2 separate regions of the Homo sapiens genome follow, and region 1 is linked to region 2. The links are contacts of gene promoters, found by promoter capture Hi-C in human tissues and cell types (Jung and others, 2019). All regions are on one chromosome and are shown on one strand. The core of a region is centred on a gene start or on the middle of the fragment in contact, and the rest is flanking DNA. Distances in the headings are between cores, read along the strand shown. Region 1 overlaps NOS1AP (nitric oxide synthase 1 adaptor protein). Region 2 holds the start of SH2D1B (SH2 domain containing 1B).

Region 1 (4,513 bases), core at 1,092-3,591, 54 kb before region 2:
TTACTGACCAATAGCTCTACCCTTAGATTCCCAGGCGGTTTATATCAGGGCACCTCTCTCTCTTTAACATTCATATCTTATCTCACATGGAGGTTTGGAGGGCAGTTCAGTTCTAAACTAGCTGCCTGACGTTTCCTTTGGAACCAGTTTATCCTCTACAAGTGGAAACAGCCCTGTGTCACTGGGGGCCTTCCTTGTGTATGTCTGAAGAAGTCCCCACAGCAGAACTGCCAGAAACAAAATGTCTTTCCCTGCCATGGAATTCTATGAATCGTAGAAGCCATCTTGGTAAAAATGTCCACAGGAGAGGGAGACAGAAGGAAAGGAGGGAAGGACACAGGAACTTCTTTCATCTAAGAGGATCTCTCCAGATCATTATATATTTTAGGATCCAAACTTCTTTGCCGATGGTTCTCACCAGAGGCAGTGGAGGGCAGGAGGTAGCCCCCTCACATGGCCCCTTCCTCCAGGACCCAGCTCCACGCTTCTCCCAACAAGGGAGAAGGAACATCTCAGACCCTGGAGGAGGGAGCCCTAAGGACACAGCAGAGTAGAGGATTGAAGCTGGGTCCTTCCTGTTATCATGGTAGGGTGGATGGAAGCTACGTTTTCCTAAAATAGATTCTTCTAAGTCTAGAACCTCAAGGAACTCAGTGACAGGGTATCATTGGAAGTGGTGGGCAAGAGATGGAGCAGTATCAGCCATCAGTCTCCCATCGGGGTCAGTTACCGAGGTGTCCCCCTAGTCCCCCTACGATTTTCTGACTGTGTGGTATCAGCCCAGGCAGCTACACCATTTCCTTTCTGGGCCTCTACTCCCATTTCCATTGAAGATATAGTGCTGTCAGCTTATGGGTTGTAAGTGTGCCAATTTGCTCCTCCTGAGTGCATGCCAAAGAGAGGGAGGCCCCTCAAGATGGCTCCTGCCACATGTCATGTCCTGTCTTCTCCTTCTCCTCCAGGTTTCGCACCCCCAGGAGCCCATGCTGACAGCCTCACCCAGGATGCTGCTCCCTTCTTCTTCCTCGAAGCCTCCAGGCCTGGGCACAGAGACACCGCTGTCCACTCACCACCAGATGCAGCTCCTCCAGCAGCTCCTCCAGCAGCAGCAGCAGCAGACACAAGTGGCTGTGGCCCAGGTTCTCCTCAGCCTCCTCCCTACTTCGCAGGCTCCACTCTCATGGGCTTGATGCACCTTCCCTAGCGAGGGGCTCAGGGCAGGTTTAAAATCTAGGGAGTCATAAGGAATCGCTCATGCTATTGGATCATTGCTTGTTGGGGAGTGGGGGCAGCGGGAGGGGGATAGATGGGGGATGCAGTTGAAATGGAGAGGCACATTTTGGTTTCCCATGTATCCCCTGCTCTGAGCTGGGCTTGGCTGGCTTGGCTGAATGTTGTTAATGACTTGAACTGACCAAGGGAAAAGATGCACACAATTCCACCCTTCCTTTCCTGCCTTACTTTCCTGATATTTGGGGTGGAAAGTGATGCCTTTGGAGTCAGAACAGTTGTGGCTTTATGATACCACTCTTAAAACAGCTTAAAGTATGAATTTGTGCCAAACACTGTTGTAAAAAGATTACTACCCTAGCATCCCAGTCTCCGTGTCTATAACAGGTTTCCCAGCCTTCATTACGATCTACTTATTCCAGGCAGTATTTGATTGGAATTCATTATTGTAGGATTTAACTTACAGGAATTTAGGTGTATTATTTGAGCCATAATGAAAAGAATTGGCTTAGATCTCAGAATCAAGGTGGTGTTTGTACCCCAAAAAACTTGTTCGGGGGCTGCTACATTATAGGGGAGGGTGAGCTGATTTCCCTTGCTGCTTTCAGCAGGGATTCTTCTTGTTTGCTTTCTATAGAGGGCGCTGTAGTCCACATCTTTCTTGGGAAGTCTGAGCTCCCTCTCTACCACCAGCACTCAGGGAATGGTGAAGACATTCATTCATACCCAAGGCTGAATCCTGAGGCGAGAGGCAGGGTCAGGGCCTGATGAGTGCATGAAGATCTTAGGAGACGGGGCAGTTGGGGCTTGGAAGAATTGGTAAAGGATCTGGAAAGGCAGCCTGCATCAACATTCTAAATCTGCTTGACCAGACTGTTGACCACTTAGGTTTTCTGCATTCTAGAATGGCGGGGAGCAGACTTCTCCAGGGAGCACTTATTGCTCTCTGTTATGTCTTCTGCTTACTCTTGTCCTGGCTCTTGAGTGGACTGAATCATCCAGCCAGAGATATCCTTTCCACCTTTCCACCTTGAGGAGGCATCCGGCGTCCTGGCCATAACAGGATCTGCTATGACTCAGGGTTTGAAGAAGACCTTCTTGTAACACGGTCTCTCCTGACCTGGGCCTGAGATGCAAGGCTCATGGATGACTTTTGCAGCCAGGTTTCAGGAGAGTAGAGTCAATGGGACACAGCTCTCAAGTTATCGGAGTCTTTTTAAAAAGTCTTACCATGAAACAAAAGGATATCTCGTGATGCTAGGAGGATTTGCAGGTGTTCCCAAAACAGCAACAGAGAGGGGGAATGTCATTAATGGCTTCTTATATTTGGAGAAAAAAAATCATTTCTCTTTGTCAAATAAAAGAATCCATCTCCTGTAGTTAATGATGGCACAGCAGTCTGAGAATCCCCTCCCTAGTGTGACAGTTGACAGGAGCACAAAGACTAAGCACTGCAGCACGGGTCCATTCTCAGACTCATTTCATTTCCACAAGTTTCCCATTGAATACAGAACATAATACTTTTATTTTGCAGCGTATCAATTGCCAAGTAATTATTATTTATCTAAGAGTGGGCTTGATGCATATTCATGATATGATTTTATCAGGGAGGCATTTGAATTCGAAGTCACTGCTAAGTACTAGAGAGAAACTATTTGCAAATGTGTAATCCACACAATAGTGTTGTGGCGGTGGAAGGAAGCATTCAATCTCCAAAGCAACAAGACATGTAACTTATCACAGGTCTACTACAGTCAGGATGAAACCTTAAGAGTAGTTTTCTGGTATAGAATCAATTGTCAGTCTCCATGGGAAATCCTGCCCTGGCCCTGTTTTAATTGTGTCTCTCCTAGAAGACAATGAATCTAGGGGAAGGAAAGGGTGTGGTATTAGAGATTTGCTTCATGAGCCTCTCTCGGTTCCACATGTCCACAGGCTGAGCACCCTTAGCCTCTCACTCACTTGGAATCTGTTGAATATAGTTGCCCTGCTTGACTCTCAATACAAGCAGTGTGGTGATCAAAAGGCCACCATACTGCATCTGTGTCCCACATTTGTGAGATGACTTTAGGGAGAGTCTTAGGCTTCCAAAATCATCAGATAGGACGTTGGGGTCATCTGATAGGTTCTTGAACATACTCCTGTACCTCTGTCTGCCATGCCCATCTGTCTCTGACTACCTTCTTTCTGTTCGCATCTTGCTTTTGCTGTCCAGGACCACAGCAGGGATATTGTACATTTCAGCTGGCTTTCAGCTCTCCTGTCCTGCAGACGGATTCGGTCCTAAACTGACCTTCAGTTAGAGGTTTCTCCGCACACTGTTCATTCTTCCACTTTCTTTGTAGTGTTTAATTCAAGGGCTTTTTTACTAGTGTCTATATCCTTGGGTAAAAACAATTACGTAAGATGTAGCTGGATTAATAGGTGGGTCTTCTTGGCATCTTTCACACATTTGAAATAGACCAAGTATAGCAAGCTTGGTTTCTCTACGCGGGGGGGGGCTGATTTCAGTTTCCAGCACGAGGTCAGCTCTTACTTGTTCTGTCAGACTCTATTGCCACCAAACTGCAAGGCTTCTGTCTGTCTTTATTAAACTACCAGCAGTCCCCAGAATTCCAGTGAGTAAAACTATGACCTCAGCCTTTCAGGTGGGAATAGTTTCCTTCTCTCGGAGAGCATCCAAATCCTCCTATGTTGTTCCTGGATAAAAATCTAAGGATAAAGACAGTTTCTTGCAGACAAGTGTACCCTTGATGTCACTTGTTGCACTATTTATGTCGTCCCCCCCCCACCACCCCCATTTCTTCCCACAGACTAGTCTAGTTCTGCTGTTGCCATGGGGACCAGGCTTAGGTTTCCTTCACAGTGTCCTGATTTGGTCTAAGACCGCAAGACCTCTCCCAGCCTCACCCTAAATTGGTTCTGAGCTGGTCTCAAAGGGGCCCGCCCTGACCTTAAAGGTATATGGGCAAAGGTGGTATTCAACCAACTCTTAAGTATTTCCGGGTTAGACCTCAGTGGGTAAGTAGTGAATACCCAAGTCCCTCTGACCGCTCTTCCGACCCAGCATGAGGCTTGCCTGGCTGCACTAGCTTCCTGCTTTTAGGTGGACCAGAAGTTCAAGGGTGTGAATGAGAGTATAGCTAAGCCTCGAAGCGAAGCTGGGATGTAGCTGGCACCTGCATGGCCATGGGCTGGGCCGACATAGTCTCAGAACTGATCTGGGCACTGTGGCTGATTGGCAAGTGTTAAGTAGGCCAGGTCTATTCACAGTTTGCCAATT
Region 2 (4,770 bases), core at 1,619-4,118:
CAGTTTCTGTTGCCATCATTTCCCAGCTTCATTGTGTTCTCCACGTCAAATTGAAGTTCCTAAATTCACCAGTCTTTTCACTTCCCTGCTCAGAAACCATCCATGTTTCCCTGTTATCTATAGAACCATTCTTTTAAAACTCCATGATCTTATCCCACCCTCCTTTTCCAAAAGCTGGTTTCCAAACTACATTTTAGGAACCTTGTATGTAAATCCTTTAAAATATCCCACTTCTAGACTCCTGTTCCTACCTCCTCCCCTTCCTAAAATGCCCTCCATCCCATTTACATGTAAGCAGATCTTTTCCACTCTTTGTTTATTTTATTTGAGATGGAGAGTCTTTCTCTGTCTCTCAGGCTGGAGTATAATGGCGCGATCTCGGCTCACTGCAACCTCTGCCTCCTGGGTTCAAGCGATTCTCATGCCTCAGCCTCCCAAGTAGCTGGGATACAACTGCACCCACCATGCCTGGCTAATTTTTGTATTTTTAGTAGATGGGGGTTTCATTATGTTGGCCAGGCTGGTCTTGAACTCCTGACCTCAGTGATCAGCCCACCTCAGCCTCCCAAATTGCTAGGATTACAGGCATGAGCCACCGCGCCTGGCCAATATATATTTTTCTTTAAATGGTACTGTTGGATGTAGATATGAGAGAAATAGCCTGTATCTCCAGTACCATTTAAAGAAAGAAATATGTCCCTGTGTATTCTATTAGTAATGACAATCACTTTTGTCTATAATCAGACTTCTGAGCCTATTCCAAGGCCCATTTGTGTACTTCCTTGTAAAATCCAGTTTTAGCAAAGAACCCTACTAAGTCAGTTTGGCAAGGACCCCTCACCCTAGCTATCTGATCACTGTTGGATTCTGATCAGATTCCTCATCCTCCACCATCCCCCAGGCAACATCTGATCACCCGGGCCTGTCTTCAGCTACAATTCTGTTAGGCTGGTTTAGCCAGAATCCACTTTACCCCTGATGTTTCCTCCGAGTAATTTTCTGTCTACCGACAGCCACACTGCTCCTTGGCCATAAATTCCCACTTGTCCATGCTGGATTCAGAGTTGAGTCCAGTCTCTTTTCTGTGCCGCAAGAGCTCATTGCAGTGGTCCCTGTACCTTTGTGATGATCCTGAATAAAGTCTTCCCAACCATAATTTAACAAGTGACATTGAGTAATTTTTTTCTTTAACAAGAGACATTTGGATTTTAATTTCTGTTACAGGTATAATAAAAGGTTCAGTGGTCCCTACTTTACAAAGAGGAACATACATAAAGATAGGAGGTTTCTAGTGATTTCTGTTCAGGATTGCTTTCTAAACTGGGCATAAACAAGTTCCTTCAGCTAGGTCTCTTTGATACTGTGGCCTGGAATTTGTTTTTCTTTTTCTTTTTTTTTTTTTTTTTGAGATGGAGTTTTGCTCTTGTTGCCCAGGCTGGAGTGCAATGGCACAATCTCAGCTCACTGCAACCTCCACCACCCGGGTTCAAGTGATTCTCCTGCCTCAGCCTCCCAAATAGCTGGGATTACAAGCATACGCCACCACACCTGGCTAATTTTGTATTTTTAGTAGAGACGGGGTTTCTTCGTGTTGGTCAGGCTGGTCTCGAACTCCCGACCTCAGGTGATTCACCTGCCTCCGCTTCCCAAAGTGCTGGGATTACAGGAGTGAGCCACTGTGCCCAGCCACTCTTTTTTCTTTTTTTTGGACAGAGTCTCACTCTATTGCCCAGGCTGGAGTGCAGTGGTGCAATCTCAGCTCACTGCAGCCTCTGCCTCCTGGGTTCAAGTGATTCTCCTGTCTCAGCCTCTCAAGTAGCCAGTATTACAGGCACACGCCACCACACCAGGTTAATTTTTGTATTTTTGGTAGAGATGGGGTTTTGCCGTGTTGGCCAGGCTGGTCTCAAACTCCTGACCTCAAGTGATTCACCTGCCTCAGCCTCCCAAAGTGTTGGGATTACAGGCATGAGCCACCATGCCCAGCCTGGAATTTCATGTTTAACTTAGACTCTGGAAATTCCAAATGAGTTTTAACACAAACAAATTATTTGAGAAATTCAGGTCTCTGTTTCTTTACCTATGAAATGGTGACTGCTTATGCTTGCCTTGATAGACTACTAGGATGAAAGGAAATGACGAATATTGAAGTCCTTCACAAATCTAACAAAATGTGAAATATGATTGTATTTATAGTTTACGTATTGCAAGCAGATGCTGCAGAATAAGTGTTTCAGATTGAAATTTCTTGAAGAACCCCTAGCCTTTTCCATACCAAATAAACAGATCTCTGGAGGACAGGACCTCTGACATTTGTACCTTCTTTCCATCCCTCTGTACCCCTGTACTTCCTGCAGCCCTTCCCTTCACCACCACCATGTCCCTCCTGCTGCTGCAGAGTCTGCTTGCAGGGCCTTTACACCAGGGAGAGCAGGCAGATGGAGGAGCATGGACAGATACATTCCTCTCCTGGCAGTGTCCATTACTTCTCATTCTACTCATTGAGACTCCAAAGTCAGAGTGAAATACTGAGGGATATGAATTCCTGTACTGTGTGGCAGCCATTGCCACATTCAACATACGATGTCAGATGTGTGCAAGATGAGGCTACTCACGAGACACAGAGGCACAGGACTCCTGGTATCGACTCGCTGTCTCTTAAAAGAAAGTTGCCATCCACCCCTTCCTTGAGCAGCAAGGTCTCACAGTCTTGCTTGGTCAGACGTCCATGGTAGTAAGGCAGATCCATGGAGAACGCTCTTGTATCCCAGGAAGCCCTGTTGGCCTGAAATTCACCCCCAAGTCAAGGGACAGCTCTGAGGAGAGATGTGTAAGCAGCTGTACCTCCTGTGGAGCTACCTCTTCCTCTAGCGGTCTGTGGGACTCAGCCAGCTTCACAAGATTCAGGAAATGAGGAGGGCGGGGTGATAAAATGACCAACACTTTTCACCCTCTAAATGGCCCACATGTGACTCACAGAAGTAGGTAAAGCACATTTAAACACACAATGGAATCAGTGATGCTCATGGCTAGGGAGGCAATGCTGAAGTCAAGCTTCCTGGAACTGTGTTGCAGCCTTGTATATTACCATGGACTATCATCAACTTCTTTGGCTACTGGTATCCTTTCCAGGAAGCACACCGCTGCTTTTGCTGTAATGGTACCCATTTTCTGCTGAAGTTGCCTAGGATTGGGCTATGCTTAGCTTAGACTGGGTGCTCAAAAACCATTTGGATGCTGAGAGAATTGATATGCTCAGATACAATGGGAAAATTGAAAGGGTGGGATTTCCGTGGATCAAATGACACTAAAAATGGAAGACATTAATGGCAATAAAAAACAGTGGGACACTGTGGATGAGGACAGCCCATTCCATGGCTAAGGCTCCCAGCCACTGGTGAAAAAAGGCCATTTGAACACCCTCAAGCATTGTTCCTTTTGGAGAAAGGGCTGGTGTAGGTGGGAGGGATATCTGGGTATACTCATATATCTACAGAAAATCACTATATATATCTCAAAAATGTTATCTATGAAAATAGAACTATGTGCTAACGATTCATCTTTACTTCTCTTAACTTCTTCTTTTTTTTGTTTTCTTCATCTCCGTAGTACCTGGAGATCTTAACTTCTTCTTAACCTAGATGTTTATTTCACCTTGCTACTTTGCTTACCAGCTGTTTACTCACAGTTGGGTGTATCTTCTATGGAACTTCCTTGTAACAGATCTTTGTTCTTCCTTGGAATTCCCACTCTGCATTTGGCATAGTGCAGTTTCACTGATCAGGGAACTCGTTATCAGACAGATATGCTCTCAAATAGCAACTTTTCTTCTGTGGTTTTGGACAATTCATTATTCAATTCTCTGGAAACTATGGCAGTTGAAGACAGAGTTGTTAATAATGAAAGAAGAAATTTGGTATTTCTTGTGAATAAATTCACAATCGTGGTGTAAAGATGCTTTTTGACATAAGAGAGGAAATAACTGAAAGCATGCTCAGGCTCTTGGTCATCACAGGGGCTTCCTTGCCCTTTTTGCTGTTTCAAAATCCAACCCTCACAATAAAAGAAATGCAAATTACCTGCATGCTGAGATAACAACTCTCACCTATCATATGGGTGAAAATCAAAAGTTTGAAAGCTTATTGGGTTGGTCATGGTGAAAGAAAATAGAATATCTTGTATATCATTAGTTGGAATAAAAAATAGTTACAACTATAGTAAAAGATGGTTTGGCAATATCTTGCAAATTTATGTATGCCTTCACCATCTGATAGAACAATCTCAGTTCTAGAAATCTGTCACAAAACTACACAGGCAGAATTAGAAAATGACTTGTGAATAAGGTAGTATTTTTTAATAGAAAAAGATTACAAACAACTCAAAGACTTGTGAATAGAGGGACAGGTGAATAAACTGTGATTCATGTATACAATGGAATATTACTATAGAATAATAAAATGGGATTGAGGAAGATCTCTATATGCTGATATGCAATAATCTTCAGGATGTATTTTTAGGTGAAAGCAGCAAGATGCACAATAGTATATAGAGTATGGGGGATATAAATAAATATATACATTTATAATATTTGCTCATATTTAAAAAACAAACGAAACACCCACTGGAAGAACAAAACTAAAACTAATTAAAACTAAAAACTTCTGCCTCTAAGAGGAGAGCGGAAACATGCATAGAGGTGAGACTTCTCTCAGTAAAACTTGCTGTAGAGTTGTTGGTTTTTTGTTTTGTTTTGTTTTGAGACAGAATCTC

The links. The method cuts DNA at HindIII sites, captures the fragments that hold promoters and counts their contacts. A contact is called where the count stands out against the background at its distance.
Region 1: a contact is called between a fragment that was not itself captured here and the fragment with the promoter of SH2D1B in region 2, in 1 of the 25 tissues and cell types used here (H1 embryonic stem cells).

Annotation. Positions count from the first base shown.
Region 1 is chr1:162,355,998-162,360,510 of GRCh38, forward strand. It overlaps NOS1AP (nitric oxide synthase 1 adaptor protein), which reads left to right. Exons shown (of 10, transcript NM_014697.3): 8 at 963-1,139. Among named protein-coding and RNA genes, the nearest start is that of MIR556, 16 kb to the left of the region's middle. RefSeq lists a silencer at 1,750-1,972. The HindIII fragment of the contact is 9,689 bases long and covers 1-4,513 here.
Region 2 is chr1:162,409,268-162,414,037 of GRCh38, forward strand. SH2D1B (SH2 domain containing 1B) reads right to left here and starts at 2,869. Exons shown (of 4, transcript NM_053282.5): 1 at 2,616-2,869. The coding sequence starts at 2,749. The HindIII fragment of the contact is 14,665 bases long and covers 1-3,596 here.